Linked DNA regions of Homo sapiens: region 1 is linked to region 2. The links are contacts of gene promoters, found by promoter capture Hi-C in human tissues and cell types (Jung and others, 2019). All regions are on one chromosome and are shown on one strand. Each heading gives the region's core, a stretch centred on a gene start or on the middle of the fragment in contact. The rest is flanking DNA. Distances are from core to core; before and after follow the strand shown.

The links. The method cuts DNA at HindIII sites, captures the fragments that hold promoters and counts their contacts. A contact is called where the count stands out against the background at its distance.
Region 1: a contact is called between a fragment that was not itself captured here and the fragment with the promoter of LANCL2 in region 2, in 1 of the 25 tissues and cell types used here (H1 embryonic stem cells).

Annotation. Positions count from the first base shown.
Region 1 is chr7:55,605,482-55,608,187 of GRCh38, forward strand. No RefSeq gene overlaps it. Among named protein-coding and RNA genes, the nearest start is that of VOPP1-DT, 34 kb to the left of the region's middle. The HindIII fragment of the contact is 3,413 bases long and covers 1-2,706 here.
Region 2 is chr7:55,363,849-55,366,900 of GRCh38, forward strand. It overlaps LANCL2 (LanC like glutathione S-transferase 2), which reads left to right and starts at 1,489. Exons shown (of 9, transcript NM_018697.4): 1 at 1,489-2,381. The coding sequence starts at 2,178. RefSeq lists enhancers at 1,414-1,603, 2,224-2,683, 2,714-2,953 and a silencer at 1,674-2,093. The HindIII fragment of the contact is 20,479 bases long and covers 1-3,052 here.

The DNA of each region.
Region 1 (2,706 bases), core at 141-2,640, 240 kb after region 2:
AAGAAATTCTCCCACCTCGGCCTCCCAAAGTACTGGAATTATAGGCATGAGTCACCCTGCCTGGCCTTCTTTGTACTTCTAAATTTAGTTTTAAAAATTCATATTCTATTTTTGTATTTCAATAAAAGATTTTAAGGGGACTTTACTATATGATCTCAGTTTAAAACTTAATTAAACTCTAATATTTTATATTGGATTTATAATATATTTGACTTCCTTTTAAAATACTGTTTTGCAATTGTCTAATATAACAAATATTCCCAAGTAGATAAGCATTTTTATAAATTGAGTAAATTAAGCTTATAGATATGATAAATTTAAGTTCTTACATATTATAATATTAAATATAAATGTCATAATCTTTCAGCTTAAAATTCTAAATCTTTATCAGCTACTAAAATTTCAGTTTTTAATTTGGATTATAGTACTAATACATTAATATATATGAAATACTGATATATAGTTACAATGTTAGGTCAAAATATAGATTTTTTTAACAAAAATTATTAATTCCATGATTCAGATTTTCTTAAACACTTATGTGCCTAATACTAAATCTTGAGGTTAAAAAGATACTTCACAATGAAAGATATTATTATGTTAGCTAAACAATTGTTTGTAACCTGGGATGACTGAGATTTTTATATACAACCAGAGCTATAGACCATGGTACTTACTGCAGTGCTGTCTGAGATGTCAAAAGAATACCAAGCCCTATTAATTATTTAGAATATAGAGGCGATATCCTACTTCTTAGGGCATGTATACTTCACATCGCCTGGTTCAAATCACTACTATTGCTGTGCTGGAGCTGGTCTATTCAGGTTCATAAGAAGTGATTGTTAAAATTTCAGGAATTGTGCAAGCCAATTGTTAAATCTGGCCATTATATAATTATATAAACATACAATTAAATAAATTGTATTAAAAACAAAAAAATAAGTTGGAGATACAGACATGAACAAAACATATGCACATAAACAAAGCAATTCCTGTCCTTTCATTTCAGAGGGGATGGGATATGTTGGTCTCAAATCTGAGCCAAGATTTCTGAACCATTACCATCTCTGTTATAGAGTGACTGGTCCATGGTGGCCCTGGACTGGTTACTATGGGGTATGGTTACTATGAGGTATGTATGGTTCTTCTTGTGTCCTTAAAAGGACAAGTGAGAGCTTCTGGAACCCCAGTACACCACACACAAGACACAGGAATAGGAAACTCTCTTTAGGCTCATGAGGTTGAACACTTTCTACTGCTGCTGGTCCATCATTATTCCACACTATTGCAGAAATGGCTGCATCTAGAATTTTCTTAGCTTTTTGTGCCCTTCATATTCAAGAAAAATTATTCAGACACTGTTAAAAATGGTAAGTGAGATTTATTCAAAACTATTGTAAGAGGGGTCATGACTTAGCAATAAAGAAGAGAAATTGAGCTCAACTCCAAATACAATAAAGACAGGAGTTGGAAGTTACAGCCAACAAGCACAATGAAGGCATCAGTGGATGCAAAACTACTAAAAGGAGAGGGCAGAGGGATTCTTGCTAAAGGCAGGCTAAGGATTTAGACATCAAGGGTGAGAAGTGAAGAACTTGATCAGATATCAAGGGTGAAGGATTCTCACTAAACTGAATTAGCAGGATTCTTATTAAAGACAGACCAAAGTAGAGGCTTAGTCAAGAAGGCTCAGAGGAGCCTAACTAAAATTTGGTCAAGGAGGAAATCTTTGTCACTCGTGCACCCAAGAAAGACAGCCATTAGCCCTGGAGTTCTTGAACTCTCCCATTCTCATCAGGATGTTTCTAGAATCTTTAACAACCACAATAGAAGAGGATAAATGAGAACCCTGGTGCCTAACCTCTTTGCTCTCATTCTGACCTCTTTATAACCCCTTATTCTAGAAAATATGGGATTCATTTTCTTCTTTCATGTCATAACTTCTTTTACCATGGGGCAGCAAGCCTCCTTGGAGAGCCGTCAGAATGGATGAGGGATTTTTTGTTTCGTTATAGAAGAAACTCTCTTTCTGATATCACTTAATATCTGTGAGTTGTGGGAACGATTTGGAACTAATAATTTCTGAAGTAAAAAATGCATTACTTTAAAATCACCCAAAATTATTCTGAATACATATGCATTATGTCTTTAATGCCCACAATAATGATAATATTATTTTGACTAAGGAAACCACAGCTGGAAGAAGTTAAATATCTATCTGGCTTCTGCTTCAAACATAGTTTTTTCTCTTTAGTATAGTATTTTAGAGAATCATTGACACAGTTTCTATTGACTTCAGTATATTGACTAAAAGGCCTTAGCATGTTCATCTTGTAGAAATGTATTTGTAGAAATTTGAAGCTGAAAGTGGTAGTAGTTTCATTTACGGAAAGGCTAGATGGAATGGGAAGGACTTTTGCTAATACTTCAGTGGCAGGATAACTTTCTGAGATATTAATTTGGGTTTTTTTCCCTCGATGTCATGAGGATTGAAACCAACGTAATTCTGTGTCTTTATGTTAAACAATTCTGAGATTAGGCATACTTTCCTGGCTTAAACAATACTGAAAACAAGTAAAAATAACTTAGCTATTTGCTCTAGGAATCACTGCTTTCAGAAATAATATTGTAAACCGACTAAAACAGCTTACCTACCACCCCAAACAGCTTATTTGTAAGACTAATTTCATGACCCTGGCTTTGCTG
Region 2 (3,052 bases), core at 239-2,738:
GGTCTCTGTACTACTCAAGAGCTCAAGAGTGGCCACGGGGGAAGATAGCCCTGGGTGTAAAAGGGCCGCAGAAGGGAATCCCCTGTGCTCTGCATTAAAAAACCCCCAGGGGACAGGAGGCTGAAGAAAGGGAACCTACCACTTCTCCATAAAATAGTGTCAGTGAGCTGTCCAGGAGGGCAGGGGATCTGCCGATAAGAGAGCATTTAGGAAAATATGCCGACTCCTTAAATTGGGTTTCGATTTTTCAGCTTTTGAAAATATTGGTTTTCTTTAGGACAGGTTTCTGTACTTGCCAACAGTTGCCAGTTATCCACCAGCAGACTGCAGGAAGAAGAGACAATCTTCACCTCCCTCCTGGGTAGGGAGAGCTGAGAATTCACTAGGCTTAGCCTAACAAAGCCCGCAGTGGACGTTTCTGCTGTACCTGTCCAAGGCGTGATAGTTCCCCAGACTTTGGGGAATATCACCGTGGGTTATTTTGTCTAGTTAAGTCCCTGTGGTGGGATAAGGATGGCTCCTAGAGCATGTCGGCATCAGTAGTTCCTGGAGTGGATTTTCCTACACCGTCTAGGTATGAAAATTTGGTGGGAGAAAAGACCCCAGGAAAGGGGAAAGCAGGAAAGTGGAGCTAAGGGATGCTGCTATAACACTCATCCTGTTGTATCTGTTCTGTTTCCCTGAACTTTGAAGATAGTTATGCTGAGTACCCCCTTTAAAATGATTTTCTTCTACACTGTACCTTCCCATGGTCATGTTCTTGGTGGGGTGTGTTTCACATGTCCAGCCCTGTGGGGTTGGGGGGACACTAGAAGAGGTAGTGGGAAGCCAGACTTTCCCACATCATTCCACCGAGGCCACGGAGGCAGGAGGAACCGAGCCTTCCCTGTGCTCGGCACTGTGTTTTTCTTCATCATGTCACTTTTTACATTAACGTGTATTTTTGCTTGCTTCCAGAAAAGCACCTACATCAGCTATGCTGTAATCCTTGCTTTTCTCACCCAATAACTGGGAATCCCCAGAGAGCCAAAACTATCTTTTTAATCTCTTATTTCTTCATCACCTAGTACCATTTGGTGCTCAATCAACGTTTACTGAGCGGAAGAAAACGGAAATAAGACATTTTCCTCAAGGAGCAGAAATCATTACACGTATTTGGTCCAAACAAATAAAAATAAAGAGAACCAATGAAGACTGAAGTAAACCACATCACGATTACATAAATGTAAAGATCTGGTTGCTTGTGTCCTTTTTATAATACATACTATGATCTTTGCCAATTAACACTGGAGGACTCTTTCTGGTCGATAAAATGTTTGGATAATTAAGTATGCTTTCATTTTATGTCCCGGTATCAAAGATGTCCATTTATTCAAAACAAAGGGAGTGAACATAAAACATAAAAAGAAAAAAAAAAAGGCCTGTGGCTCCTCCTCCCAGACACCCCCCTCCAACAGTGATGAATAGGAGGGACTGTCTCCCTCCCCCATCCCTCGGAGACTAGCCTTGCAGTGTTTTAGACTGTTTTGAAATTCTGTTCTTTAGAAGAGATTTTTTTTTTCTTCTTAATATCAAACAAAGAACTGCTGCTATTCCTTTGGGCTGGCGCAGCAGGGGCCGGTGAAATGCAGGCTGACGACGGCGCGCCAGGGGCTGAGCTCGCCCCGGTCGGCGACGCGCACACACCTTGAGTGACAGCGACCTCTTCTCTACAGGTTTTCCCCGCGGGAGCGTGGCCCTAGCGGGCGTTCGGTTTTCTTTGGAAATCGCGGAGGGGGCTGGCCGGGCGCAGCGATCCCCACCCCGGGACTCCAGCCCCGGCCGTGCGCGTCGCCGCGGACGGGCTCTGCGGGCCACGGGGAAGGTGCGAGGAGGCGCGAGCAGGCTGTGAGCCGCTGGGCGCTCCCGCGAGCCCGCTCCTCTCCGTCGGGAGCAGGGCAAAGGCGCCAGGAACAGGGCAGAGGCACAGCGCCCACCGCCTCTGCGGCCGCCTGATGTGCGAGCAGCCCGCGACGAGGCAGTGCACGCTCAGACGCCCCGCTCCTCCCGCCAGCGCGCGGCCTCGCTCCTCCTAGAGGACGCTCTCTGCGCGGGCCCTCGGAGGAGGCGGCGGCGGGGCGAGCTGCAGCGCCGGGACAGGAGGTTTGTCCCCGCCCGCGCGCCGTACCGCGGCGGAGATGGGCGAGACCATGTCAAAGAGGCTGAAGCTCCACCTGGGAGGGGAGGCAGAAATGGAGGAACGGGCGTTCGTCAACCCCTTCCCGGACTACGAGGCCGCCGCCGGGGCGCTGCTCGCCTCCGGAGCGGCCGAAGAGACAGGCTGTGTTCGTCCCCCGGCGACCACGGATGAGCCCGGCCTCCCTTTTCATCAGGACGGGAAGGTGAGTCGGCGGCCTGGCCGCAGAGGCGCCGGAGGGGGAGCGCGGCGGTGGTAGCGTCCACCTTCCGCCAGGCGTGACGTCACAGGCGCGCGCCGGGCTTGGGAGGGCGCGGGATGATAGCGCCTAGCACCTGTCTCCGGGCCTTCCCGATGAGCCGCGCTTAGGGTCCGTGGGCTTCAGCTGCATGAACCACGTTCCAGCAGTTCGGCCCTCCTGGCCCCAACGCGCCTTTGAAATACGCGGACAGTGCGCTTTCCTTCTTGGCCCGAGCGGCGCTTCGCAATGCGGGCTTGTGCACTCGTGAGGCCCGCGGACACCTCCCGCCCCTGCGCGGCGGAGCGCTCCGCCGGCTACCTGCTCCTCAGAAGTGGCCTGGAGGCTGGATTTCCTTGGCCATATCTGGTCCCTGGGCTCTCGCCGACAAAGAAGCATTGTCCGTACTGTCTGTGTGCCCAGAAATGGGAAGCGGGTGTAAGGGGAGGCCAAACTTGACTTTCTTAGTGTCGCGAGGTGGGTCAGAGCGTTACATTGACATAAAACAGATTAACAACAGAAAAACATACATCTCTTGAATATGTTTTACGTGAAAAAGACACAAAGAAATGGCAAAACCCAAATACTTTTGTGCTAGGCAGAACCAAGAGCGGCAGCTGTGGGAGAGTAAAGTGTGC